Linked DNA regions of Homo sapiens: region 1 is linked to region 2. The links are contacts of gene promoters, found by promoter capture Hi-C in blood cells and fetal thymus (Javierre and others, 2016). All regions are on one chromosome and are shown on one strand. Each heading gives the region's core, a stretch centred on a gene start or on the middle of the fragment in contact. The rest is flanking DNA. Distances are from core to core; before and after follow the strand shown.

Region 1 (5,196 bases), core at 1,610-4,109, 2.3 Mb after region 2:
GTTGTCATCTGACTGCAAAGTAACCCACTTCCAGAGTTCTGAGGAGCTGCATTCTAGACTTTCTTCTTACATCAAATTTCTTAGCTTGGTTTCCCTCAAAACCTGAGACAACTACTTATGTGGGGACAGGTAATTTGGGATGTGATCCTAGTGAGAAACAATGAGAGAATGGAAGGGAGAATATAGACATAATACAAGAATGTGTTATTGAAGTTGCTGTTGTGAGAAACCAGAACCCAATTTCACTGGGACTTTTTGAAAAACACACAGAATGGCCTACAAAACTATCTTGCTCAAGTGTAAGAAGCAAGAGCATTTATCCATCAGTGACTGTCACCCCTTGGTTGAAGGGCCCCAGATGTGTTGACTTACCAGCACTTCAAAGCTGTGCAGGACAGGAGCTGAGAGAGCTACTGCTGGAATGTGTGAAGTCCGAAGAACCTCAGGGAAGAAAGCAAAGAGGCCTGGTAAATGTGGGAGAGGAGAAGCTGTCAGGGAGAAGAATGTGTAAGATTGCATGAAACTGCCCCCCACAACCAAGTCAGAAATGAGAGGTGATGCTCAGAAGATGTGAATCAAGACACCAAAGGTTTCTGATACTACAGAATTATTAATTTCTTAAAAATTTAAAACCAATTCATAGGACCAGGCGCAGTGGCTCACGCTTATAATCCTAGCACTTTGGGAGGCTGAGGTGGGTGGATCACTTGGGGTCAGGAGTTCGAGACCAGCCTGGTCAATAAGGTGAAACCCCATCTCTACTAAAAATACAAAAATTAGCCGGGCATGGTGACAGGCGCCTATAATCCCAGCTACTCGGGAGGCTGAGACAGGAGAATGGCTTGAACCCAGGAGGCAGAGGTTGCAGTGAGCTGAGATGTGCCACTGCACTCCAGCCTGAGCGACAGAGTGAGCCTCTGCCTCAATCAGTCAATCAGTCAATAAAAAACAATTCATAGCTGCAAGTCTTTAATTTTGTTTACCACGTGGTTATCACAGGAGTAAATGGGAAGTATTGTAAGAGAGTCGATATTTATTAAACACCTACTCTATAATAAGTACTACTCCAGATAGTCTCTCCTACATTTCACATTTGACATGTAAAAATATTTCACTGACATGGTAGTCAGAGAAGAGCCAGGTGACATTTGAGCAGTGACTGGAAAAAAATGAGGAAGCAAGCTCTGTGGACATCTGAGAGGGCAGTGTTCCATGCAGAAGGAACAACAGCTACAAAGCACTGATGCTTGCTGTGCTTGGGGGCAATTAGAAAAGCTCTGAAGTGTAGCTTGGATGTGATCCATCAAGAATAAGTTCAGTCTTAAAAGTCAGGGTAAGAATTTTGAACTTTAATCTGAGTAAAATGGTAAACCGCTAAAAGGTTCTGCACAGAGGAGTGGCATATTCAGGTTCTAATGGGATCACTCCAGCTGCTGAATGCAACTATGTAGAGAAATAAAGGGAATGCAGAAAGCTATGCTCACGGCTACTGCAATTGTCCAGGCATGAGCAGATGGTACCTTGTAACACCTCTTGTACCTTAAGTTGTTTTATACTGCCATTTACTTTCTCATGGAAACCCCTAATTTCTTCAGGACAGGGAGCTCATACGCATAGTTTACGATATGAGCTATACATATGCCCATTTAATAAATACTTGATAAATAACCACCATATAAATGGCTAACAGTAGTACTAAATTCACATTATACAGTGACGATATGGCATCACTGAAAGGTTTTGTCATTTACTATCTCTTTAGGAAATTTAAGTTCTCTAAGCCTTAATTCCAACATTCCTAAGTGTTGCTAACACCAGCCTAACAACGTTGGCAAGTATTAAACGAAAATGTCTACCCAGACCTTTTTTTCTCACCACCAAAGTAGGTGCCTTGCTTTCTTACAAACCCTCGATCCCAATACAAGACACAAATGCTACCCTTTCTGAAGAGTGCCTGTAAAATTTTAAAAGTTGTCCATAACTGACTGGATTCTAACATACATATTAATCCAATTCATCCCTTTCTGGTATTCAAGGCATGCTTTCAAAAATTGTCCATCTTCGTTACAGTAATATTTTCCTTAATTATTCTCTGAAAACAGCTCATCCCCAAACCGTCTTGGTTTTTACGTTATTACATCTCAGTGGTGATGGATGAGGCCCTAAACGCGGGGAAAACCTTTTACAAAAGTTTTGATGGCTGGTCCTCAAGCTTTGAGATTTACCTTCCAAGAATTAAGCAGCACTATCGAAACAATGCTGGCAACATTTTTATGAGGTTGCAAGGACCACGGTTGCTGCAGCTACAGGATGAGTTATAACGTCAGAAGCAACCCAAGCGTTACTTCAGGCCCATCTTCACCGGAGAAGCCCGTATGAATCAGGCAAAAACATAAAAACAGGTTCTGTGACTTTGCCGTATCTCATTTAGATCAAGTAGCACGCAGAAGGAAGACAAGGATTTTAAAATCTGGCTCCAACATTCTCCACTTGGTCGCGTTCTCAAATCTCAGCCCAGGGCCGCTGACGTAAAGTCGCCTCTCTCGTGGGCACCACGGGCTCGAGGGTAGCCGGCAGCTGAAACCCGAGGGGCTTCAGAGGCTTGGAGGCCAGGAGCAGGCAGAGCGCCGATGGGATAATGAGATTCTCCAGCAGATCGGCGCTCACCGACCTACTCCATTTCAGTGGGTAGAGGTAAAGGCTGAAAGGCGACCCTCGCACCGCCCGGCCCACCTAGGCAGTGCCGGCCTAGCGTCTCTACCCCATAGAGCATGCGCGGGAGGTAACGGCCCGCCCGCCACCGGCCACACAGGCCTGTCGGGAGGCGGGGCCACGCGTCTGCGCACGCGCGCAGGGACACATAGGCGGAAGTGGCCTGCGGGCGCCGGAGTTGAGAGTGCTTTCCGGGGAGGCGACCGCCGCGGTGGAAAGTGCAGGAGTGGGCGAGGAGGAGGAGGAAGAGGAGGTGATGGCGACGGACCAGGGGAGGGGGAGATGCTCCGTCTAGCTCAGACGCCACGCAGGCTGCCGTCACCCTTCCGGGTGACATACCGGCCTTGGGGTACGCGTGCCTTCGGGGCCTTTCCTGTGTTTGGGACCCAGATCTCCTCTCCTCCAGAAAACCTTGACACTGCCCATCTTCCTCATCCAGAAGGAGCGTTCGAGGAATGGATGAGGTCGGGATGGAAGAAACGGGTGATTCCCTTTTTTGAAAGAGCGGAAACCGGCCGGGCGGTTTCCAGGGAGGAGCATCTGTTCCTCCTCGCCCGTTTTTCGCCCTCGGGCTGGCGAGAACTCCCTCAGGTCCCAATCCGTGGACTCGCAGGGGTGAGGTGACCTCAAGGGGTCTTTTACGCTGTTCTCGGGGTCTCTGGAGAACTGTCAGTCACCTGGATACCTCTAGACTGTATTTACAGTTAACTGTTTCCTCGTTCCGTGTTTATTAAATAGGGGCACTCCAAGGTACTCTTTTCTCCATTTGGCTTGCAGTAGAATGTGATTGTTCTGGCTGGGCTATTAAGTTTATGGCATAAACTTCCACTAGAAGTTCTGCAAGTTTCCTCCAGTCTTTGCAACTGAATTATCTCTCCCGTCTTTTTATTATTTAAGGAATATTGAAAGTAAAAGATGGAATGATTTGGTGCGCTAACAAAATCTTAAGTGTTGAGTATCTGCATTTTTTCTACATTAGGATATCAGAAGCCTAGAATTGTTTTTTGATTAAACGTTTTTCTAAGTGAATTGAGATAGTTTGGAACTTGGAAGAGAGGCAGCATTTCAAAATAATTTAGACAGCGTTATTTTTACTTAATTACTTAATATATAAAGTCCTAGTGTTAACTTTTTCTCTTGGAAAAAAAAAAGAATAGTCTTCAAACATTAGCACAGGGTTTCTCCACCTTTGTGTAATGATGTGTGTACAAAGAAATGAGATGGAACTTTGTTTTTTCTGTTTTATAATCGTACACCATAGGCCATGATTGATTCCGGAGCGCAGTTAATCAAGGCATAATGGCATGGTAAGATTCTTTTATTTGTAACGTTGAGTGTGGCAAAGTATAGTTAAAATCACGTTTTTTCAGGTTAATGACACCGTAATGACTTTTTTTTCATATTCTACCTTTTTTTGGTGTGGGACTTTTGTCCTTCAGGTCGGAAAACTCAAAAATAAACTGAAATAATTGTGACTTCAATAGGTCATTGTAACTCAACATTATCACTAATTTTAATTTTTAAATATACATTGTATGCCGGAAATGCTACCTTTTTATTCCATTTTAGCAGTTGAAGTTGAATATCTGTGTTGAATTTAGGAAGAGGCCTCAGGCAATTATACACACCTGTGATTTTTAAAATATATATATATATATTTTAGTTTCACTGATTACTGTGAGCTTCAAAAGCAAAGCACAATGTTGATCATTTAGTCTGAAAACTAATTTTAATTCCATGCTTCATTTTTGCTCCTTGCATCACAAGGAGTTTGGCCCATTTTTTTTTTTAGATGATGGTTAGTATCAGTCATTAATGTTTGAAGTGGAAGGGATATGGCAGACATTCCCCAATGATCACAGTTATTAGGTATCAGAGGTCTTTATCAGTCACACTTTCTCACCAGTGATGTTCTTATTAATAAAACAGCATTCTAAATGCAAGGCTTTGGTGGGCAAGTTTTATGAGACTGATGCCTCAGGCAGAGGAAACAAATTTATTTTCATGTTCATTTCAAATGTTTTGTGGGGAGTTTCAGTAGCAATGTCGGTATTTTGGCATACATGTAGAAAAGACAGTGCTAGAGAGATTTCATTCTGCACATATGGCCTAGATCTGCAGCACATAAAGTTGCCAAGAAGTGTATTAGAAGTGGTAAAGTGTTGGAAAGGAGCTGAATAACGTTGATTAAATAAATGGTGCTTGCTAAACTGTGGTAGAGTCCTTCATTTAATCTTACATTTTTGTTATGTGCCAGAACATCATAGGAAGATATCTCTTGCCTTAAGGATTTCATAGGCTTTTAGGAGAAACAAGTATAAAAACGAAAAAGCTATACCATTATCATTTAGGAATTTGAAAAATATGTATAATATGATTGAGTCCAGGACATCAACTCGTTTTTAACTTCGAGGCCTTATTCATGGATGCAGCATGATCAGACTTCACGTTGAGCCATGTGACAGATGGGTCAGAAAGGGAAGA
Region 2 (5,363 bases), core at 543-3,042:
GAAGTCAGTGCTAACCTGGATTTAAAAACAAACCATATTGTCATAGGATGGGGCTAAAAGGTAATCATTCCCCACAGGTCCTATGTGCCCACAGGTACTATCACTGAAAATAAGCACCACAGAGGTTGGATGACTTTCTGAGAGTCACACAACTAAGCAAAGCTAGAGCTGGGACTCAAACCCAAGTTTCTGGCCCACAGGTCCAGTGATCCTCCCATCCCGCACGCCATCCCAGGCAGTCTACTCTTAGGGTTCTTTTCAGCTGAGGAAAGGAACTCTGGTTTCCAGAAGCTCCTGGCTACTCTCTAACCATTTACTGTCTACTCACAATGGGAAGAGGGGCTTCTCCATTCTTCTCTTCTCAGTCCAGAAAGGAGACTACCCCAGGCCTGCATCTGGGGAAAACAAGCCGGATCAGCAGTGGTTAAAAGCACAGCTCCCCAGCAGTCAGAAAGAAGTGTGTCCAACCTGCAGGCTATGCAACCTAAGTCTCAGTATCCTTCACTGTACCATGAGGATAACACTGGTACCAATTTCCTGGGGGTGTTGTGAGCATTCAATGGATGTCACATGTAAAGGTGCTTAGCACCTAGTAAACCCTGAACAGATGCCGATCATTTCACATAGGTCCACAGGAAACTCAGCAAGATCCACTGACCAGCTCTATAATCAGGGAATGTGTTAGTCATTTCATTAAGCACTCACATTATCACTAAATCGGAAAGCAAATACTCCCGTGCCCTTAATCCAACTACTTTAATGTCTCTTTTGAGGGGTGGTAGGGATGTTGCTTTTCTTCACTGATGCAACAGCCAATTTCAATACTCAATTTTTTTTTTTAGAAACTTCTGCATCCAACTCACAGTTCTCGTTAGGAGGGCAGAAGGGGAGGGTAAAATACACGGAAACTCAAGTCAGAATCACATGTGACATTGCACCCTTGGAAAAACAGCTCCTATTTTCTTACAGAAAAGTATTCTGTATGCAGTGAACCTAACAAGATGGAAAGCAATGCATACGCCGTTTATTCTGTTTAAAGAATTAGGCCAGGCAAAGTGGCTCACGCCTGTAATCCCAGTACTTTGGGAGGCCCAGGCAGGCGGATTACCTGAGGTTAGGAGTTCGAGAACAGCTTGGTCAACATGGTGAAACCCATATTCTATTAAAACACACACACACACACACAAATCGGGCATGATGGCATGCACCTGTAATCCCAGCTACTTGGGAGGCTGAGGTGGGAGGATGGCTTGAGCCCAGGAGGCAGAGGCTGCAATAAGACATATTCAGGCTACTGCACTCCAGGCTGGGCGACACAGCGAGAACCCCTCCCCACCCCCCAAAAAAAGAAAGAATTAATTTCCCATAAAACGGGGAAGGGCAGCGGGCTTGGGATCTTGCCCACAGTTCTTAACTCGAGGCGGCACTGAGTAAGGGAGGCTTTTAAAGAGCTGGAGCAACAAAACCACCAGGAAACGAGGCAACACTATGCTACAAGGGTAAGCCTTTGCCTCAGGAGCTCAGGTGCTCCGAGCATCCACAGCCTCTTTTAAGACAAGCAGAAAATACCCAAGGAGAAAAGCACCGACCACACGGCATAAAGGCCCGCTGAATCGGGGGGACGAAAAGCAGACGGCCGTGAAACTCCTAAATAATCCCTAAAAGTTAAAAGTGGCAGAAAATAAAAACAATACTCTCCAAAGACCTGCACCGACCTGCCGAAGGCCCGCGGAGTCCACTACGGAGCGCAAGCCGCGGGACACAGCAGCCAGGTCTCTCCGGAAACGCGATTGCGTGCGCGCTGCGCCCCGGGGCCGCGGCAGGGCGGGGAGAAAGGCGGGACGTCGTGGCGCGTGCGCAGTGTCCTTGGAGAGAGGTGAGCGGAGAATGGGGACAGTGGGGGCGGGGCTTGAGCCGCGGATTACCAGCACGCGCCCTGCATCCCGGGGGCGGGGAGTGAGGCGGGGCATCGCGGCTAGCGCCGTTGGCGGGGAACCGGGCGGGGAATCTCTGTGCTTCCTCAGTCCCCAGGCCCAGCACCTGCAGGGCCGACCAGCTCCAGTCCCAGGTCCAATCCTGAGTGGCCAAAAGCCGGAAACCCGGAGTTGGAATTGGATCTTGCACAAGCTGGACCACGTAAGCTGGGCCAGGCCAGAGGTGGAGGCCACCGCTGCGGGAGGAGGGCATCTGATGATTTTGAAGGACCCCATTAATAGAGGGTATAAACCAGGTGCGGGCCATCAGGGAGGATTGTCACTCTGGCCCGATCTTGTTTGTTTACACCAGGAAGGGCCTGCCTTCCACCTGCAAGAAAATATGGCAGCTGCAGAATAATGTGGCGCAATGCCAAATATCCGTTTGTTTTAGGGAGTGAGGCTACTTGAGAAGCATCTTAAATGGGGAGAGAGAGCAAGTTAAATCTGATTTCCACGCAGCTCTGTGGATTCCGAATGTCCACAGTATGATGTTATCTCCATTCCCACTTCCGAGCCGCTCCTCTTCTGTGTTTCCTGCACCACCATTCGCTCAGTTGCTCTACACTAAAATTTGCTGTCATCGTTGACTTCTCCCTCTCCTTCATCCCCTACAAGTATCAACATAGACAACTCCGATCAATATAATCATCAGTGAATAAAGCAAATTGCAGCGCATATTCTTAAAGACAAACTTTCCACTTGCAGCAGCACCTACCTTCCAGATAGCTAAATTGAAGCCCGTGTTTATCATAGCTGCTTCTAACCAGCCAGAGCTGATAATAACTAAGAACTTGCAGGAATTGCAGTATGCCAGACCTTCAATTTAATTGAAGACTTTCCTGAACAATTAATGAGACTTGTCTTAACCAGCAGGGAATGGCTTTAGGGACTCATTCTTCCCTATGCAGGTGCAAGCCTCAAACCTTAATTAGGATCATCCACCATGATCCTCGAGCCCTTCCCCACCTTATACTTGAAGAGGCTGAACCTCAGAGAATTAAATTACCTACAGTCCTGGTCACTGGTAGAGCTATTATTTAAAGTAAGGTCTAATGTCAAAGCCTGCGTCCTTAATTCTACCATATGCTGCTTCTTGCAGTGTCGTTCCTCAACCAGAACACATAGCTCTTCTGTGTAGGTAAAGTCCATCAAAACATGTCATAAAATAAATTAAAGAAATTGGTTTCTGCTCTATTTCAATTAGTACCAGAGTAAAACAATCAATGATTTGTGTTTGGGAATATTTCTAGTTGGCATTAACGTTGTTAGGAGATAGCTTAGCTCTTCACTGGGGGCCCACTGAATTATCGGAACCCTGGAACACAAATGTGTCAAAAGGGTGTAATCAAAATTATGTCAGGGAATGTTAAGTTTCTAGTCTTTGGTCACTGAGGCCTATCAGTAGGTTTGGGTGTTTTGTTTTGTTTTTCCCACAAAGAGGCTTTGAGTAAGAATTGTGTCTGGTAGACAAACACAGGTACACACACAGGTGTGTACTCACACAGCAAGAGCAGTAGAGATCATCTCCCACAACACAAGAGCTCATGAAGAAAGGGAATTGAGCTTCAATGTAAGCATTAGTTTAGCATTTTTGGAGCCTGAATGTGTTGACTTTACAAATTAAGAAGTCCCTGAACAAAAACGTCAAAAACAAATCCCAAGTTGCAGTCTGCCCAGGTAATTCATGTCTATCAAGTGTCTACAATACCAATTTCTACATCTTTGGGAGTATTTTATAGGTTTGTTTGAAGAGCAAGGTCAATAACTCTTTCCCCAAGAAATAAATGAAATCATAAAAAAAAAACCGCCTATTTTCTTAACCTAACCTATCTGCCATCTACTTCTGGATCATATTCATTGGAGCCATAAAAATATTAGCAGAAGCATATGCAGTTCTTATTATCTGCCACTGTTGGAAGCGCTTTACATATGTTAACTAACTTACACTTCATACCAACTCTGTGCAGTGACGACTATGATTATCTCCTGCTTTACACATGGAAGAAATTGAGGCACAGACTACAAGGTCACACAGCAAATGGCAGAGCTGTCCTAACTCTGCATTTGTTTCTTGCAGTGAAGAGTCTTTTTTCTGTCTCTTAGTCTGTTCTCAACACAGTGACCAGAGCACTTGGGTTAGAAGTCTGACTGTGCCATTTCTCTCCCCAAAACCCTCTGGTGGCACCCCTTTTCTCAGGCAGTGCTTTGCAAAGCCCCACACATCCTCCTCCCTGACATCAGCATCTTCTCTTTCCCCCTCACTTGTGTTTCCTTCTTGCCCTCAGCTGCTTCATCTGCCTGGAACGCCTCCCCAGACAATCTCCTGGTTCACGCCCTCTCCTCCTTTCTGTCTTTACGCAAATGTCACTTCTCAGAGAGACCTTCCCTAATCACCTGATTTAAAACTTCAACTCATCTGCATTTCCCCCGACAGCATCTTTCCTTCCATGACAATTCCCTGCTAACCTGCTCTGTAACTGGCTTAATCATCGTAGAGCCTACCTCCCCCTTTTTTGCATGTTTGTTTCATGGGAGTGATGATATTTATGCAGCATTTAGCACAGTGCCTGGCCCATAACCAGTACTCAGTAAACATGTGTTGAATGGACAAGTAGATGTGGAGTGAGAAATGAGAGGGGTGGTCGGCAGACAGGAGAACAAAGGCCACATGTACAGTTTGCCCTGGCTGTACCCTGGCTCTGGTTCTTCCTGCCTTGGCCTCAGCCAGATACACCTGTGTCCTTCTCATGTACTTACCCCCACGTCCTCTGTTGAAGCTTAGGACATCCAGAGTTGCATTTGTTTCTTGCAGTGAAGAGTCTTTTAAAATCTGAAATAGGCTGTGAGCGGTGGCTCACGCCTGTAATCCCATCACTTTGGGAGGCTGAGGCACATGGATCACCTGAGGTCAGGAGTTCGAGACTAGCCTGGCCAACATGGTGAAACGCTGTCTCTACTAACAATACAAAAAAAAAAAAATAGCCGGGTGTGATGGTGCACGCCTGTAATCCCAGCTACTCAGGAGGCTGAGATGGAAGAATCGCTTGAACCTAGGAGGCAGAGGTTGTAGTAAGCCGAGATCACTCTACTGCACTCCAGCCTGGGTGACAGAGGGAGACTCCATTTCCAAAAAAAAGAAAAGAAAAATGAAAAATTGAGTTGACATCATGGGCCCTGTGTCATTCAAAAACTCAACATTTCACTAATCAGTCAAGCTGCCCATGACTGCCCCAGGCCATTGCATTCAATATGTTAATTTATTTACCAAAGCTGTGTCTTTCAGAAGGGTTGTGTTTTTCCTTTTAGCCCTCAGAATCTAGGATAGCACCTGGCACACATGGTGAGCACTCACTTCATGGCTGTCGGATAAACAATGGAGCAAGGAAG

Evidence for each region. The method cuts DNA at HindIII sites, captures the fragments that hold promoters and counts their contacts. A CHiCAGO score of 5 or more calls a contact.
Region 1: a contact is called between the fragment with the promoter of SLC35B3 here and the fragment with the promoter of TMEM14B in region 2, in 1 of 17 cell types (non-activated CD4 T cells). The highest score is 5.2, in non-activated CD4 T cells.

Annotation. Positions count from the first base shown.
Region 1 is chr6:8,433,208-8,438,403 of GRCh38, reverse strand. It overlaps SLC35B3 (solute carrier family 35 member B3), which reads left to right and starts at 2,859. Exons shown (of 10, transcript NM_001370479.2): 1 at 2,859-3,061. LOC100506207 (a long non-coding RNA gene) reads right to left here and starts at 2,781. Exons shown (of 5, transcript NR_038980.1): 1 at 2,226-2,781; 2 at 373-464. RefSeq lists enhancers at 2,462-2,551, 2,632-2,711, 2,652-2,821, 3,022-3,081, 2,578-3,119 and 1 more. The HindIII fragment of the contact is 10,856 bases long and covers 2,215-5,196 here.
Region 2 is chr6:10,744,234-10,749,596 of GRCh38, reverse strand. TMEM14B (transmembrane protein 14B) reads right to left here and starts at 1,792. Exons shown (of 6, transcript NM_030969.5): 1 at 1,716-1,792; 2 at 329-395. The coding sequence starts at 351. TMEM14B-DT (TMEM14B divergent transcript) reads left to right here and starts at 2,013. Exons shown (of 2, transcript NR_187231.1): 1 at 2,013-2,136; 2 at 5,283-5,363. RefSeq lists silencers at 1,763-1,822, 1,778-1,998, 1,833-2,062 and an enhancer at 2,183-2,232. The HindIII fragment of the contact is 12,296 bases long and covers 1-4,755 here.